Regions from separate parts of the Homo sapiens genome. Here region 1 is linked to region 2. Evidence: promoter capture Hi-C in 16 types of primary human blood cells and fetal thymus (Javierre and others, 2016). All regions are on one chromosome and are shown on one strand. Each heading gives the region's core, a stretch centred on a gene start or on the middle of the fragment in contact. The rest is flanking DNA. Distances are from core to core; before and after follow the strand shown.

What was found. Contacts are between HindIII fragments. The CHiCAGO score rates a contact against its expected background, and 5 or more counts as called.
Region 1: a fragment that was not itself captured here is called in contact with the fragment with the promoter of TMEM203 in region 2 in 2 of 17 cell types (M2 macrophages and M1 macrophages); the score reaches 5.7 in M2 macrophages.

What each region holds. Positions count from the first base shown.
Region 1 is chr9:136,928,114-136,932,411 of GRCh38, forward strand. No RefSeq gene overlaps it. Among named protein-coding and RNA genes, the nearest start is that of FBXW5, 14 kb to the right of the region's middle. The HindIII fragment of the contact is 4,239 bases long and covers 1-4,155 here.
Region 2 is chr9:137,202,942-137,207,198 of GRCh38, forward strand. It overlaps TMEM203 (transmembrane protein 203), which reads right to left and starts at 2,707. Exons shown (of 1, transcript NM_053045.2): 1 at 1,141-2,707. The coding sequence starts at 2,473. The coding sequence ends at 2,063. It overlaps NDOR1 (NADPH dependent diflavin oxidoreductase 1), which reads left to right and starts at 2,759. Exons shown (of 14, transcript NM_014434.4): 1 at 2,759-2,971; 2 at 3,291-3,368. The coding sequence starts at 2,837. RefSeq lists a silencer at 2,463-2,722. The HindIII fragment of the contact is 6,239 bases long and covers 1,251-4,257 here.

The sequences.
Region 1 (4,298 bases), core at 786-3,285, 280 kb before region 2:
CTGAGGCTGGAAACCACTGTCATGTTTTCGTCTAATGATTGTGAAGTTTTGTCTTTAACATACTGGGCTTCTATATTTGGGGATTTGTTTGTATGTGACAGGTTTTGCTGGGTCACTGCAGTTTGTTAAAACAGATTGATTGAGGTCATCTCTTCTCACTTAAAACGAAATGGAACTGTGAAATGAGAGGAATGGACCAAAAAAAAATCCTCCCCCAGGGACAAAGATGGGGAAGAAGCCAACATCCCACAAAGGATTTGAACCCATTTTGGAAGGTGGGAAGTGGGTTGGTGGGTGGCTGCTGAGCAGAAGAGGGCTGAGGGGGAAGCTGGCCACACCGGGAGGCCCTGGCATGGAGCAGAGTCTAAAAGTGGATCAACTGAAAGACGGGGCAGAGCAGCTACCTTGGAGGTCCTTTGCCAGAGCAGCCGGATGGTCCTCCTGGCCCTCACCTCCCTGCAGTGGAGATGGAGGTCTGGAGAACCTGGGGAAGAGCTGAGGACCGCACCCCCCACGCAGTGAGAGCAGCATCGGGCTCCAGGCTGCAGAAGGGGCAGAGGTCTGCACTCGGAACAATTCCCTAGGCACTGGCTGCCACACCAAGAGGCTCCCACGAAGCAGACCAAGGCCCTTGAGGGACAAAATGCTCTGGAGCAGCCCCGTGGGCAGGCCTGGCCCAGCCGCCTCATGGCCTTCTGGGGAAGTGACAGGCTCTGTGCAAACCCACAGAGGTACCATCGTCACTACCTAATTTTGGGACATTTCATCACCCTGCAGAGAAACCTTCCCTTAGCAGTCACTGTTCCCTCCCGCTCAGCCCCTGACAGCCAGCCATAAACCTACCTTCTGTCTCTATAGATTTGCCTACTCAGGACATTCATGTGAATGTGGCCTTTGCTTTTACTCAGCAAGATATTTTCATGGTTCCTGTGTGTTGCAGCATGCATTGGAGTTTCATTCCTTCTAATGGCTGAATAATCTCTTGTATGGATGCACCACACCTTATTTATCCATTCATCCGTTGCTGGACATTTGGGTGGTTTCTACTTTTTGGCTACTCTGAAAATGCTGCTGTGAACATTTGTGAACAAGTTTTTATGGGGACGTGTATTTGTTTTCATTTCTCTTGAATATTTATACCGAGGAGTAGAGCTGCTGGGCCGCTTGTTCAGCTCTTGGAGGAATTGCCGAACTTTTGTGTCACCTTACATCTCCCTCAGGAAGTGTTTTTTTTTTTTTTTTTTTTTTTTGAGACGGAATCTCGTTCTGTCTTCCTGGCTGGAATACAATGGCACAATCTCGGCTCACTGCAGCCTCCGCCTCCCAGGTTCAAGCAATTCTCCTGCCTCAGCTTCCTGAGTAGCTGGGATTACAGCTGTGAGCCACCACGCCTGGCTAATTTTTGTATTTTTAGTAGAGACAGGGCTTTACCATGTTGGCCAGGCTGGTCTCGAACTGCTGACCTCAGGTGATCTGCCCACCTCAGCCTCCCAAAGTGCTGGGATTGCAGGTGTTGCACCTGGCCCCTAATAACATTTTTAAATTTCACGTAGTAAAATTGATTTGTTCTTTTGTTTTGTTCATGGAACATTCAATTCCATGGATGTTCACACCTGTGCAGATGTGGGTAAGCACCATACCTGGGAGACAGGCGAGCCCTGCCATCTCAGAAGACTGTTCCACTTTCCCCATAGTCACCACCCCGACCCGTGGCAGCCACACACCTGTCCTCCACCACTGTAGTTATGTCTTTCCAAGAAGGTCCCATAATGGAGTCCTACAATGCGTGGCTGGGAGCAGCGAGATCTGCAGAACGCCGCTGAGACTGATCAGGATGCGTGCATCAGCATTTGTTTTCTCTCTTTTTTTTTTGTTTTTTTTGGAGTAGTGCTCTATGGATGGATCAGTTTGTCTCGTCACCTGTTGAAGGGTGTTTGGGTTGTTTCTAATGTTTTGCAGGTCTGAATAGAGCTGCTATAAACATTTGTGTACAGGTTGTTGAGCAAGTTTTTATTTCATTAAGGTAGTTAGCAGTGGGGCTGCTGGATCACACAGTAAGTGTATTTTTAAATTCAAAAGAAACTGCCAAGCACTTTCCAGAATAGCTGTAGCCTGTTGTGGAATGCCAGCATGAGCCACAGTTCCCGCTGCTCCACATCCTTGTGGGCACTTTGTGTTGTCAGCATTCTTTTTTAATTTCTTTTTAAGATATAGGGTCTTGCTCTGTCACCCAGGCTGGAGCGCAATGGCGCAGTCCTACCTCACTGCAGCCTCAAACCCCTGAGCTCCAGTGATCCTCCCACCTAGGCCTCCCAAGTAGCTGCGACTACAGGTTCACACCATCGTGCTCAGCTTATTTTCTTTAATTTTTGTAGAGACAGAATATCACTATGTTGCCCAGGGTGGTCTCAGACTCCTGGTCTCACACTGTCCTGTCTTGGACTCCCAAAGTGCTGGGATTATAGGCATGTGTCACTGTACCTGGCCAAACTTTATTCTTGTTTCTCTTTTTCTTTTTTTCCTTTTTCCTCCCTCCCTCCTTCCTTTTTTCTTTTCGTTTTCTTTTCTCTTTTTTTTCGTTTGCCCTGCCCTGCCCTTTTTTTTTTTTTTTTTTTTTTTTTTTTTTTAAAGACAGTCACAGTCTCGTTCTGTTGCCTAGGCTGGAGTGCAGTGGTACAAATCCTACCTCACTGCACCCTCGAGACCTCAGGCTCAAGCAGGTCTTCCCACCTCAAGCATCCCAAGTAGCTGGGACCACAGGCACACCACCACACTCGGTTAATTTTTTAAATTTTTAGTAGAGATAGAGTTTTTTTTTTTTTTTTTTTTTTTTTTTTTTTTTTGAGACAGACTCTCGCTCTGTCACCAGACTGGAGTACAGTGACCCATCTTGGCTCACTGCAACCTCTGACTCCTTGGTTCAAGCGATTCTCCTGCCCCAGCCTTCCAAGTATTTGGGATTACAGGTGCATGCCACCACACCCAGGTAATTTTTTTGTATTTTTAGTAGAGTCGGGGTTTCACCATGTTGGCCAGTATGGTCTCGATCTTCTGACCTCAGATCTGCCTACCTCGACCTCCCAGAGTGCTGGGATTACAGGCATGAGCCACTGCACCCAGCCGGAGACAGGGTCTCTCTGTTGTCCAGGCTGGCCTGAAACTCCTGGGCTCAAGTGATCCGCCTGCCTCAGCTTCCCAAAGTGATGGGATTACAGGCATTAGCCACCACGCCCAGCCAGTTGTTGTTTTTCAGAATTGTTTTCCCTATTTTTGTTTGTTTGACAGTACATATATATTTCACAGTCAACTACAAAAAAATTCTGGGATTTTGATTGGAATTGCGTTAAGTCTACACATCAGTTTGGGGAGAATTGACATCTGTGTTGAGTCAGACAATCCATGAACATAGTCTATCTCTATTCTTTATCAGCGTTTTGTAGTATTTCATATGTATGTTGAACTGGCTGGAATGCAGTGGCATGATCGCAGCTCACTGTGGCTTTGACCTCCTGGGCTCAATGGATCTTCCCACCTCAGCCTCCTAAGTAGCTGGGACTACAAGTGTGTGCCACCACGCCCGGCTAATTTTTGTATTTTTTGTAGAGATAGGGTTTTGCCATGTTGCCTGGGCTGGTGTCCTGGACTCAAGTGATTCACCCACCTCTGCCTTCCAAAGTGCTGGGATTATGGGCATAAAAGTCACCACACCCAGCCAGTATACATATCTTGTACATGTTTTAGTAGGTTTATGCTTCAGTGTTTCTTTTACTTATTTATTGCTTCCTATCCCACAGCTTACTTTGTTTCTTGAGCTGTTGTAAGAGGTTGTTTTTTGAATTTTGGTTTCTGACTGTATATTTCCAGTGTTTAAAAACAAAACTGATTTTTATGTGTTGTTCTTATACCTCATAACCTTGATGAATTCACTTACTGGTTGTAGGAGATTAGGATTTTGTTTGTTTTTATAGATTTGGGGGGATTTTATGTGTGAACAATATGTCATCCATTAATAAGGACAGTTTTATTTCTTTTTATTCAATCTCTATGCCTTTTATTTCTTTTGCTTGCCTTGTTCCATTGGCTGACTTCCCGTTTATAAGGTTGAATAGTAATGGTAAGAGTCTATAGCCTTTCCTCATTCCCACTCTTGGGGAAAGCTTTCTTGCTTTCACAATTATGTATCATGTTACCCACGGGGATTTTTGGTGATGCTGTTTTATCAGGTTGAGCAAGTTCCCTTCTACTTCTAGTTTGCTTCTAGGGTTTTTTTTTTTTTTTTTTATCATGACTAGACATTT
Region 2 (4,257 bases), core at 1,457-3,956:
CCATGCCCAGCTAATTTTAGTATTTTTAGTAGAGACGGGGTTTCACCACGTTGGTCAGGCTGGTCTCAAACTCCTGACCTCGTGATCTGCCCGCCTCCGCCTCCCAAAGTGCTGGGATTACAAGCGTGAGCCACCGCATCTGGCCCCAGACAGGAAATATTTTAGCCCACTGGTTTTTGCCAGGGACAATTTTGTTCCCCAGGGCCCTTAGCAATGTCTGGATAAACATCTGCTTGTCACAAGTGAAGGCTGCTACTGGCATCTACCCAGGAGAGGCAGGAGCACTGCGAAACAGACTGCATCCTCACTAGAGAATCTTCTGGCCCCAAAGGCCAAGAGTGCCAATTAAGAGACCTTGGACTCTGAGGGTCATATCCACTCTCTGTCACAAGTTCTGCTTTTGTTTTTTTTTTTGTTTGTTTGTTTTTTTCTGAGACAGAGTCTCGCTCTGTTGGCCAGGCTGGAGTGCAGTGGCGTTGTCTCGGCTCACTGCAAGCTCCGCCTCCCGGGTTCACGCCATTCTCCTGCCTCAGCCTCCCAAGTAGCTGGGACTATAGGCACCCGCCACCACGCCCGGCTAATTTTTGTATTTTTAGTAGAGACAGGGTTTCACCGTGTTAGCCAGGATAGTTTCGATCTCCTGATCTTGTGATCCACCCACCTCGGCCTCCCAAAGTGCTGGGATTACAGGCGTGAGCCACCACGCCTGGCCTGCTTTTGCTTTTAATCATTTAGGGGTGTAAAAACCATCCTCAGCTCAAGGGTCATACAAAAACAGGCCTTAGGACATTGTTTGCTGATCCCTGCTCTACAGAGTGCCAACAAGGCCCACAAAGACCACACTCTGGCAAGAAGTCATGGGCTCTGGGGTCACAAACTATTCAATGGGTCTTTAACATGAGCCCAGATTGTTGTCTTCATACAGGGTGGGGGGGGGGGTGCCTGAGTTACCCACCTCCTAGAGCAGGAAGGAGGGATTCTCCAGAACAAGTGATTCCCACCACCACCATCCACTAAGCTCTAGCCACAGGTTTCAATCCATTTAAAACCGCAGCTCTGTAACCAGCTACACCACGTAGCAGAGAGTATCTCAATATTCATCCTATTTAACCCTTGAGGGTTACAGGCAACCACTATTCATTTCAGGAAAACATTCTCTTACTTTATTTGCATCTCAGCAAAGGTTCTCATGTGGCACCTGACTGGCATCAAACCAAAGTTCGTAGGCCAACAAAGATGGGCCACTCACAAGCTTCCCATTTGTAGATCTCAGTGCCTATGAGTATCTGACACCTGTTCCTCTCTTCAGTCTCTTAGGGAGGCTTAAATCTGTCTCAGGTGTGCTAAGAGTGCCAGCCCAAGGTGGTCAAAAGTCCACAAAACTGCAGTCTTTGCTGGGATAGTAAGCCAAGCAGTGCCTGGACAGCAGAGTTCTTTTCTTGGGCAACAGATAACCAGACAGGACTCTAATCGTGCTCTTATTCAACATTCTTCTGTCTCTGCCTAGACTGGAATAAAAAGCCAATCTCTCTCGTGGCACAGGGAAGGAGATACAAGCTCGTTTACATGTGATAGATCTAACAAAGGCATCTACCGAAGTCTGGTCTGGATAGACGGCACAGGGAGCTCTTAGGTCAGCGCTGCTGGTTGGAGGACATTCCTGAGTCCAGCTTTGCAGCCTTTGTGCAACAGTACTTTCCCAGGATCCACAGGAAATACTCAGAGTCCACCTGGACATTTTACTTATATTCAGTTTCCAAGTGTCAGAGGGGTTCAGGACTGTCTGGCCTGGGGGGCCTCCTCATGACCTCAATTCAGGATTATCTACTCAAAGCATTAAACAAAAGGAAATACATTTTCAGGATGAAGGCTGCTCTTTTAAGCCCTGCTGAAGAAACCATTTCAAACAGGATTGGAATAGGGAAACCCGGCACTCAGCTCGGCGCAAGCCGGCGGTGCCTTCAGACTAGAGAGCCTCTCCTCCGGTGCGCTGCAAGTAGGGCCTCGGCTCGAGGTCAACATTCTAGTTGTCCAGCGCTCCCTCTCCGGCACCTCGGTGAGGCTAGTTGACCCGACAGGCGCGGATCATGAGCAGCTGCAGGAGAATGAAGAGCGGGGACGTAATGAGGCCGAACCAGAGCTCCCGAGTCTGCTCCGCCAGCTTCTGGCACAACAGCATCTCGAAGACGAACTTGAGACTCAGGACCGTAAGTACCCAGAAAAGGCGGAGCACCGCCAGCCGCTTCTCTCCATCCTGGAAGAGGCGCACGGACACGATGGTGGTGAAGTAGGTGCTGAGCCCGTCAGCGGCGAAGAAAGGCACGAACACGTTCCACCAGGAGAGGCCCGGGACCAGGCCATCCACACGCAGTGCCAGCAGCACAGAGAACACCAACAGGGCCAGCAGGTGCACGAAGATCTCGAAGGTGGCGAAGCCTAGCCACTGCACCAGCTCCCGGAGCGAGAAGAGCATCGCGCCCGTTGAGCGCGGGCCGGGGCCCGGCCGAGCGTGCCACCCGCGGGGCTGCGTCTCCTCTCCCCGTGGCCCTCGCCCGCGCCTGCCGCCGCTGCTGCGAGCGAGAGGCAGCGAGCGGCCCCGCCAGCCCCAGCCCTCGGCCCTGATGCGCCGGCAATCCCCCGGCCCCGACCCGGGACTCAACCCTGGCCGCCCGTGAACGCCCGCCTCGATCGGACGCCATGCCCCCACAGGGCGCGTCCCTAGTGCGTCACTTCCGGTCGACGGCGGAAGGCGGAAGGCGGAGCGGTCCCTGCAACCCGGCCGGCGGGAACTGCCTTCTAGTTTTTAGTCTCAGACCAGACCACCGGGCGCACCCCGATGCCGAGCCCGCAGCTTCTGGTGCTCTTCGGCAGCCAGACAGGCACGGCTCAGGATGTGTCGGAGAGACTGGGTCGCGAGGCCCGGCGCCGGCGGCTTGGCTGCCGGGTGCAGGCCCTGGACTCCTACCCGGTGGTGAGGGCTCGCTAGGGCCTCGGCGTGGGGGACGAGCAGGCCTGGCGTGCCCGCCTCGCGGGGTCATCGACCCAAAAGGCGTCGCATTTTCTCTGAGAGCGGGTCTTTCCCTTATGGCGGATTTAGGGAAGGAGGTTTGGGAAGGGGAGTTCAGTTTAGCACCTGGAGGAGGTTGGAACCTGAAAGAGAAGACGGTCTGGCTGCTCACATAAATCCCTCTGCCCTGTCAGCCTGAGTAAAGGAGAAGGGGGTCAAGTTTTGGGAAGGACGCCCGGTCCTTACAGCCGGAGGTCTTACGTGTGTGTGTCTTTTTGTTGAGGTGAATCTGATTAACGAGCCCCTGGTGATATTTGTTTGTGCAACTACAGGCCAAGGAGACCCCCCTGACAACATGAAGGTAAGGCTGGCCTGATGTGGCTCCTCAGATCCCTGCCCTCGACCCTCACCCCGTTTTCATTGCCTGGCGTCTAGGTGCAGTAAATAGCTCTCCTTTATCTCATGCACCTTCAGAGGTGGATTTGAGAGAACGTCCGTGAGTGGGGCTGGGGGCTCCGGTTGCCCTCTCTAATAAACTCGTCGTAGCCACCAAATAGCCTTATTATCCGTTTTAACCTTTCTTATTTTTCCAGGGCTATCTATATGTGCATCTAGTCTGGGTCTTGTGTGTATTTCTAGACTGTATGACCCTCAGGGAACGTTGCTGAATTCTCTGACCATCTTTTAAGCACATATTCTATTCTTGGCACAGTCTGGTGCTGGGGATCCAGCTGTGAACCCAGCAGCCATATTTCCATCCTGGCAGAGTTCACACTGTAGCAGAAGCAGCTAACGGGCAATGACAGTGCCAGCAAACACCTGCTGCTGGGGAAAGTAGCATATGTCACAGGAGCACTGATAAGGGGCATCGAGCCTTATCTCACCCAACCTTGGGGCCCAGGCAGAGGTTTCTGGAAGAAAAGAGTGTAAGCTGAGTCACGGAAGGATGCGTGAGGGCTAGTCAGGCACCGAGGAAGAAGGAGCAGTCAGCGCAGAGGAAAAAGATGATTTGGTTTGTGTGAAAAGTGGAAAGCAGCTCAGGGTGGCCAAGCTGAGGAGTACACTGGGGCAAGAGGGGAGGAGAAGAGAGGCAGGAAGCCAGGCCCAGTCCAAAGAGCCTGAGTAACCACAGCAAGGCAGATGGGCTTGAAATGAAGGGTTGTCGGAACTGTAGGGGTGACACAGTCATGTTCCTAAGCTAGCAAAACCGCACTGGTCTGCAGGACAGCAGGAATAATGCCATGAGATGC